Linked DNA regions of Homo sapiens: regions 1 and 3 are each linked to region 2. Evidence: promoter capture Hi-C in human tissues and cell types (Jung and others, 2019). All regions are on one chromosome and are shown on one strand. Each heading gives the region's core, a stretch centred on a gene start or on the middle of the fragment in contact. The rest is flanking DNA. Distances are from core to core; before and after follow the strand shown.

Region 1 (2,876 bases), core at 75-2,574, 380 kb before region 2:
TCTTTAATCCTTGTGCTGTTTCTGACCCTGATTCTGAAGATTAGCATTCTGCAACCCTGAGTCACTGGGTTATCCTGGTAAGTTGTACAATCATTGACTTCGAGCAGGGTTCTGATCAGTGTAGTACAAGGTTAAGATAATCCTTGCTCTTCGTGACATTTTTCTTCTCTTATTTTCTGTTAAGGAGACAATCTGATGGCTGTGGAAGATTTTACAAGAGTCGGTGTTTGAAAGTTTTTTCCAAATCCACGTTAATGGAACAAAATAATGGGGAACCAACTGAGACTGGGGCCTAATTTAAAGTCACTTTGCCAAATTAAGGCATAGCCTTTCACCCACAGCACTACATCCTAGTGCCATTTGTCTTTTCAGTTAACTTTATGGATCCCAGAAACACTAAATATCAAAGCACATAAAAGTAAGCACTTTAAATAAAACCTGGAAGAATCTTAAATTAATACAGCCATTGCAAACTTAGATAATACATTTTTTTTCCCCAAATGACAGTGTTCAGAAGATAGGAAAAAGCTCTAGCTGTTTTAAAAGAATGTGTTCTGCATAACAAAGATGATGAAGATGAAGCAGGTAAGCAATTATCAGTTAGTAAAATGGTTAGAAAATAGAATAACTAACCTGGTGGGTGAAAACTCAGATGAGGATATTAATTCACTATTTAACTGGACAGACAATTTATAGCTAAAAAAATTATTATGTTTTGATTTTGTAGCTGTTATTGAAATGAAAGTCTTTAAGCTCAAGACAAAAGTAGTGTTTTCCATTCACATCTCAAAGGTAATATAAAATGAAGTTGCCTTATTTTCCAACCCAAGATAAATTTAGAAGGCCGTTTTTCACAAAAGGAAAAGGATATTGGAAAGGAGGGAAGATAGAGGAAAGGAAAGTAGGAAGGAAAGAAGATCCTTACAAAGGTGTCTTAAAAGGGAAATAGCTAAATCCTACAAAACTAAAGAAAATGGTATACCGTTGTAAATGAAAAGATGGGAAATAAAGCCAAATGTGGATGTGTAGTACTTTCTTTATGATTTTTACTTTGTTAAGCTTATATCTAGTCTTTTATTAATAAGAAACTATTATTTGTCTCTCATTTTTTTCTCCTATTTATCTCTTGAAAGTTCTTGATGAAGCAGTATGATTGTGTCTTATCCTATTCAGGCTGCTATAACAAAAGACCACAAACTGGTAATTTATAAACACCAGAAATTTATTTCTCATGGTTTTAGAGTCTGGGAAGTCCAAGATCAAGGTGCTTGGCAGATTCAGTGTCAGGTGAGGTTCTACCTCCTGGTTCATACATCGTACCTTCTGATCCCCACATGGTAGAAGGGCTTGCAAGGCATCTCTCTGAGGCCTCTTTTATAAGGGCACTAACCCCATCCATGGGAGCCCCCAAGACCTAATCATCTTCCACTAGGCCTAACCCAGTAATATCATCACCTTTTTGATAAGGCTTTAACGTGAACTTTGGGGGAACACAAACATTCAGGGTGTATAGCAAGTTCTAAATTTGTGGGAGTTTGAAAGTTTTTTGTGTGTGTGGTTTTTTTTAAATGTTTATTTTAGGTTCAAGGGTACATGTTCAGGTTTGTTATATAGGTAAACCCGCATCACAGGAGTTTGTTACATGGATAATTTCATCACCCTGGTTCTAAACCTAGTATGCTATAGTTATTTTTTCTACTTCTCTCTCTCCTCCCACCCTCCAACCCCTGAGAGACCCCACTGTCTGTTGTTCTCTTCTTTGTGTCCATGTGTTCTCATCATTTATCTCCCATTTATAAGTGAGAACATGTGGTATTTGGTTTTCTGTTCCTGTGTGAATTTCCTAAAGATAATGGCCTCCAGCTCCATTCATGTTCCCACAAAAGACATGATCTTTTTCTTTGTTATGGCTGAGTAATATTCCATAATATTTGGTAATATTCCAAATGTAACACATTTTCTTTATCCAATCTGTCATTGATGGACATTTAGTTTGTTTCTGTGTCTTTGCTACTGTGAATAGTGCTGCAGTGAACATTTGCATGCATGTCGTGCATGCGTCTTTATGGTAGAACAATTTATATTCCTCTGCATATATACCGAGTCATAAGACTGCTGGGTCAAATGCTATTTCTGTTTTTAGCCCTTTGAGGAATTGCTGTACTGCTTTCCACAATGGTTAAACTAATTTACACTCTCAGCAACAGTTTATAAGTGTTCCCTTTTCTCTGCAACCTCCCCAGCATCAAGTTATATATTTGAAGCATGAGATTTATCTATTTTGCAATCCAGGAAATCATTGTAATTTTTCCTGAGTCTCTAAAGGAACGAGTAGCTCTGTCTTGCACACTAAGCATACATAAGGTTTGGGAGAATATGTAGTTCATAAGTTATGAAATCCCACAAAGTGCCTCAGGGAAAATAAAAGGCATTAAGAAGTACAAATATTCATGTGTTGTCTTTTTTATATTCAAATATAACAGTGAGAAGACAACTATATTTTTTTCATGTGCATGTGAATAAACAAGTCCAGAATATGTCACCTTTTGGGATGTTTATAGAAAGACCATCCTTCAGGTTAGAGCTATTTCTCTTAGTCTGCAAGTCATCTTGATTCTTTGATCAAAATGAATCATGCCATTCTGGATGGCTGCAAGCTTGGTTGGCCTGCTGCTGCTGTTTCGTAGCATCATATAGCCATACTGCGTGTCACATGACAAGGTCATTGCCCAGGAAGTGTTGCTATCCTGCTCATCAGCACTGAAGCAGCACACATCTGCTGGCCTGAACCATGTAGAAAAGAGAGGATGTCACAATCAACTGCTGTGAGGCAGGCAGGAGTAGGGTGGCGTGTGAAAAGGAAAGACTACAAGACA
Region 2 (3,183 bases), core at 370-2,869:
GATGAATATATTTTACTTGATTAAAAATGATAAAACCAGGGAGCCTTAAATATTATCTTAAAAGATTAACTACTGTGTCAATTACAAATCTAGGAGAAAGATATTTATAAAGGAATAACTATTCTAAACAGTAACTTCCTTTTGTTCATTTCATTTAATTAATGACTCAATCAACTTTCACTCTTAATACTAAAATTTTCCTAAATTACACATTGGTTTGCAAATGGGATGGCATATAGCAGGGCTACGTCAATTTAATACTGGTGAAAATTCAGCAGATAATTCATTTTTCATTTAATCAGGAAGGAAAAAACTACTTGGCAGTGTAGAGCGACCTAATTAACTAAATAACTGCCAATTCTACATTGTACTTTGTGTTACATGACATATCATGAATAAATACCAGTCAAAAATCAAATTATTTGGATACTTAAATGATGATGAGGCCTGCTGTGCCAACAGGTATGCTAATGAGTAGACATCTCCCAGCCTCAAGACTGAGTGAATGAGGCAAATATTTTCACCTCCCAATCTTTTAGGGTGTTCAATTAACTCAAGTATTTAAGAAGTTCCCTACTATTGGGAAGGAAGTAGATGTAATCATCTATATGCTTATTTTGTCAACTGAGTTGGAAAAACTTGCAAAGGAACAGTTTGGATATATGTATTAGATTTTTATCAAAATACAAATAAATGGTCATAGATGACAATTTTCACCTAAGGAATACAAGTAAGTTTATCTATGTTCAGTTACCAATCGCCTCTAACTAAAGTTAACAATGTCTTCCTTCTAAAACCTTTCTAAAGAGCACCCTGCAATCACACCTTCTAGCAACAGCCATTTCTCTTGAATTAGTAAGGTGGCTACACCGCCAATTTGAGCTGTTCTCCTTCAGTCCTGTAGTCCATCGCCAGGGGAGTCTCCAAATGCTAATAAAAATCAATTTCCCAGACAAAAGAACATATACACGTTTTTTTCTTTCTTTCTTTCTTTTTTTTTTTTTTTTAGAAGAGGGTCAGGGAGCATCTGACGGACGTTTTTAAAGGAAGGGGACAGCTACTTCCATGGGACTGCATTTTAGTTGTGCTAAAAGTGATGAAAGTGGGTTTGCATTATTCTACCACCAACACCCAAACCACCTGCCCACGGAAACCCCCGCCGGAGACCGAAGTTTACCCAAATAGCGCTCGGCAAAGCGCTGCCATAAATTCAAAACTAACTCTGCCGGGCCCGCGGGGGTTGCGAGACAGGGACCGAACGTGAAACCCGGGGAGCCCCGCGTCTCTTGCCTCCGAAGGTTTTCCGTGATCAGTGTCCCCTTCTCTGCTGGAGTCGGAAGTGCCTGTCACCTGCGGATCTGCCCGACTCTCCCGGTCGGCCCTTCTTCTCTGCCCAGTTCGGACAGTCTCGAATTCCCCGTCGCAGCCCCGGCCACCTCGGACTCCCTGGTCCCCAGCCCCCGCCCCACCCCCCGCCTCCACCACGTCCCCTCCCCGCGGTCCCAGCCTCTCCAGGCGCTGCTGGGCTCTGATTGGCGGCTGCGCTGACAGCAGGCGGGGCCTGGAAGTCGCGGCCAAGCCCGCCCTCGCGTATAAGCCCCTCTCAGCGCTCTCTCTCCATCTCTCCCCTCTCTTTCTCTCTCGCTGCTCCCTTCCTCCCTGTAACTGAACAGTGAAAATTCACATTGTGGATCCGCTAACAGGCACAGATGTCATGTGAAAACGCACATGCTCTGCCATCCACACCGCCTTTCTTTCTTTTCTTTCTGTTTCCTTTTTTCCCCCTTGTTCCTTCTCCCTCTTCTTTGTAACTAACAAAACCACCACCAACTCCTCCTCCTGCTGCTGCCCTTCCTCCTCCTCCTCAGTCCAAGTGATCACAAAAGAAATCTTCTGAGCCGGAGGCGGTGGCATTTTTTAAAAAGCAAGCACATTGGAGAGAAAGAAAAAGAAAAACAAAACCAAAACAAAACCCAGGCACCAGACAGCCAGAACATTTTTTTTTCACCCTTCCTGAAAACAAACAAACAAACAAACAATCATCAAAACAGTCACCACCAACATCAAAACTGTTAACATAGCGGCGGCGGCGGCAAACGTCACCCTGCAGCCACGGCGTCCGCCTAAAGGGATGGTTTTCTCGGCAGAGCAGCTCTTCGCCGACCACCTTCTTCACTCGTGCTGAGCGGGATTTTTGGGCTCTCCGGGGTTCGGGCTGGGAGCAGCTTCATGACTACGCGGAGCGGGAGAGCGGCCACACCATGCGAGGTAAGCGAGTCTGCGGGCACCGAGGCTCCCCGAGTCCGGCCAACTCCAGCCAGACGGGGAGATGGGGGAGGGGAGGGCACCCAGCAGAAAGGGAAAGAGGTTGCCCAGGCGCAGTTCCCCGAATTCGCTCTCGCAGGTGGGGCTGCAAATGGCCTGGGCGTAGAAAGTTGCGGGAAGGTGTTGATGTCTTTCGGGAGTTCTGGAGGGACGCGGGAGGGCGCTTTTTTGGAGAGGGGAGACAGGCTAGTTGGTTCTTACCAGTCCTTGAGTTGCACTGAATCTTTTTTGCTTGTCGCTCTCGGGTGCGGAAGCGGACGCGGGATGGAGAAAGCCGAAAGAGGGATGCCTCTGGACAGGAGCAGTTTGGAAGCGCCCGGCGCGCAGTGGTCGCCGGCCGGGTTTGGGCGCGCGGGGCGCACCGGCCGGGGGCAGGGTGGACACGCGCGGGCACACACTCGCCAGGTTACGAGGCCCACTAAGCGTCCTGGCCAGCAGGCATGTCCCTTCGCTGGAGTAGCAAGCAGAAGAGCAGTGCTGCGAGGCTGGACGCGGCTGAGGAAACAGTTAGTTCCCCGGCACGCGGCTGAGGAAACAGTTCTGCGGCGCGCGCCTTCGTGCCGGCGCTGCGCCCTGGCCAGGTCCTCGTGCCCGAGCCCGCGCGGCCCAGGGAGTAGTGCGACCCCGGAAAAGTTGTAATGAGAAAGTTCTGGAGGCTTGGAAAGGCCACACTGCTCACAGTCGGAGAGTCATGGGCTCCGGCTCTTTTGTCAGATAAAGGGCCGGTAGTGGAAGGAGGTGCTGGTGCACCCTCGGGCCAGGACCCTCGCAGTCGCAGGCGGTGGCGGCGGCGGCGGCGGGACCCCGGGGCGAGCTGGGGTCTGCAGGGATGCGCGCCAGGGACTGTAGCGTTACGCT
Region 3 (3,056 bases), core at 256-2,755, 410 kb before region 2:
CCTAAGTTATGAAGAAGTACCATATTGTCTTATAGAGTACATTACATTGCTTTTTTTGTCATCATTGGAGGTAAATCTCAGGAATGTTAAGGAAGAAATGCACATCAAAAAATCAGCAAATTAGATTTTTCCCCAGATCTTTATGAGATGTGACATTAAAATATCTGGGCATTATACAAGCCAAAATATGATTGTCTCTGTTACAGGTCACTCCAATTTTTATTTTATTGTCCAGAATCCCATTTTTGGACAGAATACCATTTCTGAGACTTCATCATGTATATTTACACCAAGCAGGTGGTTAGGAAGTGCCATCTACCGATTGTTTTACTTTCTAATTTGTAGAGTCTATAATGCCCTTTCATATATCAAACTATAATTAAAACAAAACACATGGGAATAGAATCCAAGTATTACTTTAATAGCTTAGGCATTTGTGGTTAGTACAGATGACTTTTTTCTATTTGTTTTCAGAAGCCCAAATACCGTAAATAGAATCCTGCAGCAAGCCTTGTGTTTCAACTGTATAACAGAAGCTTGAACTGGGGATTTTTAACAATTCCACTTCAAAGGAAAGCAGACTAGTCAGTAGCTCAGTTTTGTCCTTTTGAAGCAAACAATAATAGATGTGCCAGTTTGCAAAATGTGCACATATGACTAGTGTATCAACATTGTTAAATAAAAGGTTATTGCATTAAATAAGATGACCTTGCTACCTTTTAGTCACAGTCTTAGAGAGCAAACTTGTTTTAATTAGCAGTCAGCAAGCAGACTGTAACTTCACTGAAGGAGCATTGAAGAATCACTGCCTATTAACAACCCAGCGGTAAGTAAGCCAGCACAAATACTTATAACCAAATAGTGTGCATTTCAGGAGTGGAAAGGATTAGCTATTGGGCACACAACACAGTGGAGGAAATTGCTTTATTCCCAGTACTGCTGGGTACCAGGAGGCAATCACTGTGCCTCCATCCCATTAACAGCATTCAGAGTGTTGCTTCCCATAGAAGGGGTTATTGGCTAACCACTGGGTGACCAATTAAATGCTATGAATAAGTCCCAAACCCAGCAGCATGGGGCCTGTTTGTGGCACAGTTGTATCATTACTAAAGTGAAAAACTTGATGAGAAAGGAACATATTTAATTATAGAACTATACAAATGGCTAATTAGGACCATAAAGTGAAATGAATGACTTTCCAGTGGATTTTTGAATGTTACTGATAACTGCTCAGCTTCTTTGGAGACCATGAAAGTGATCTACAGACAGAGCTTGCATGTCATGGTAATGGATGGATCTTCATTAGAGGAAGTTTTTTGACCTGGTTGCTCAGGTAGCATGGGTTCTAAAGACAATCCTTGATTCCTTTCACTGCAAGGGTTCTTTCACTCCAACCCCCTGGTCTCTCTTGAGTTCCGCTTGCTTTCACAATAATTCTTATGGGTTTAAATGCAGAAACATTATCTGCAATAGTCACTCTCTATCAGTTGGAAAACTGAATGGCAAAAGAGTGTCACTAGTTAGTGGGAAACACTGATCCATGCTTAAGTTTAGCTTTTAAACTCTAGGATTAATCCTAAAATCTGCAATTACACTTTGCTAATTCAGGCATCTCAATTGCTAAAATGTCATGAATCCTTTAAATGGAAGAATTATAATTTAAGGCTGTATCTACCTAGTGACTAAGATTAAATTAAGAAAAACAAAAAAAAGGAACATTGGAAATTGATCTGAAATCATGAAAATGAAAATCAATGTAATTGACTTCTTGCTATCAATTGCTGGAGCAAACTTTTGTTTTGGATGTGTTTGTGTGTTTTATGTTAATTTTGTAAGAACAGGTTTAATGATACTAATTTTATTTTTGTTTATCAAAAATGTAATAAACATCTATAATGTATAAATAACTGCACTAAAACTGTTCAGAAACATCACCTTCCTGGCAGAGTAAGAAATATTCAGTGCTATCAAAGAATTACATCCTTCTAGTCAGGTAACTATACAAAAGACTTACTTGATGTCACTTAATATTATTGAATGCTTGCCTTTGCTTTTATTTTTATAATTTAATTTTATTTTTATTAAACAAATTATTATTAAAAAATAAACAATTCTTCAATATGTATAGTAAAGAGAACAATTTTATCACCTCTGAACTCTGTCTACTAAATTTGCTAGTCACTATTATATTGTAAAGGGCATAGTAACCACCTTCCTGGTAATCAAGATTTGGTGAAAGATACTGATACTAGATGAGTTTATAAACATTGTGGCTAGAAATTTGAATGAGAATGCTATAAATTTTCCACATCGGTAAATACATTATATATTCCTAGATGATTTTATCCAGCAGCAAAGTCAAGGTCAATATAAATATGTACCCAATTCTGTTCCTGAGAATACTGGAATAGTGAAAATGTATATTGACTGACTCCATTTCCACCAATCACAAGAATACTTGTCATGAACTTGTTGATTGACTGCTTAGTCAGAATTCATATAAATATTATTTTATTTTTAGCTTGATCACTGAAATGATTTGGAGAGTTCTAAAGGTAGCACAGATCTCCAAAGATCATCTGACATGGACCTTTCTATCCAGGAAAGCTACATTTTACTCATCCAAGGAATTGATGGCTCCTTACGTTTAAAATATCCTCAGGTATGCAGAGCCTGTCAGGCCTCTGAGCCCAAGCCAAGCCATCACATCCCCTGTGACTTGCACATATATGCCCAGATGGCCTGAAGTAACTGAAGAATCACAAAAGAAGTGAATATGCCCTGCCCCACCTTAACTGATGACATTCCACCACAAAAGAAGTGTAAATGGCCAGTCCTTGCCTTAATTGATGACATTACCTTGTGAAAGTCCTTTTCCTGGCTCATCCTGACTCAAAAAGCACCCCCACTGAGCACCTTGCGACCCCCACTCCTGCCTGCCAGAGAACAAACCCCCTTTGACTGTAATTTTCCTTTACCTATCCAATCCTATAAAACGGCCCCACCCTTATCTCCCTTCGCTGACTCTCTTTTCGGACTCAGCCCGCCTGCACCCA

Evidence for each region. Contacts are between HindIII fragments. The study calls those that stand out against the background at their distance.
Region 1: a fragment that was not itself captured here is called in contact with the fragment with the promoter of RORB in region 2 in 2 of the 25 tissues and cell types used here (bladder and lymphoblastoid cells).
Region 3: a fragment that was not itself captured here is called in contact with the fragment with the promoter of RORB in region 2 in 2 of the 25 tissues and cell types used here (lymphoblastoid cells and mesenchymal stem cells).

The regions. Positions count from the first base shown.
Region 1 is chr9:74,117,899-74,120,774 of GRCh38, forward strand. No RefSeq gene overlaps it. Among named protein-coding and RNA genes, the nearest start is that of RORB, 380 kb to the right of the region's middle. The HindIII fragment of the contact is 3,224 bases long and covers 1-2,876 here.
Region 2 is chr9:74,495,716-74,498,898 of GRCh38, forward strand. It overlaps RORB (RAR related orphan receptor B), which reads left to right and starts at 1,620. Exons shown (of 10, transcript NM_006914.4): 1 at 1,620-2,268. The coding sequence starts at 2,262. RORB-AS1 (RORB antisense RNA 1) reads right to left here and starts at 2,838. Exons shown (of 5, transcript NR_125791.1): 1 at 2,527-2,838. RefSeq lists silencers at 1,256-1,468, 1,464-1,653, 1,558-1,852. The HindIII fragment of the contact is 7,823 bases long and covers 1-3,183 here.
Region 3 is chr9:74,082,909-74,085,964 of GRCh38, forward strand. No RefSeq gene overlaps it. Among named protein-coding and RNA genes, the nearest start is that of RORB, 410 kb to the right of the region's middle. RefSeq lists enhancers at 2,339-2,902, 2,903-3,056. The HindIII fragment of the contact is 7,929 bases long and covers 1-3,056 here.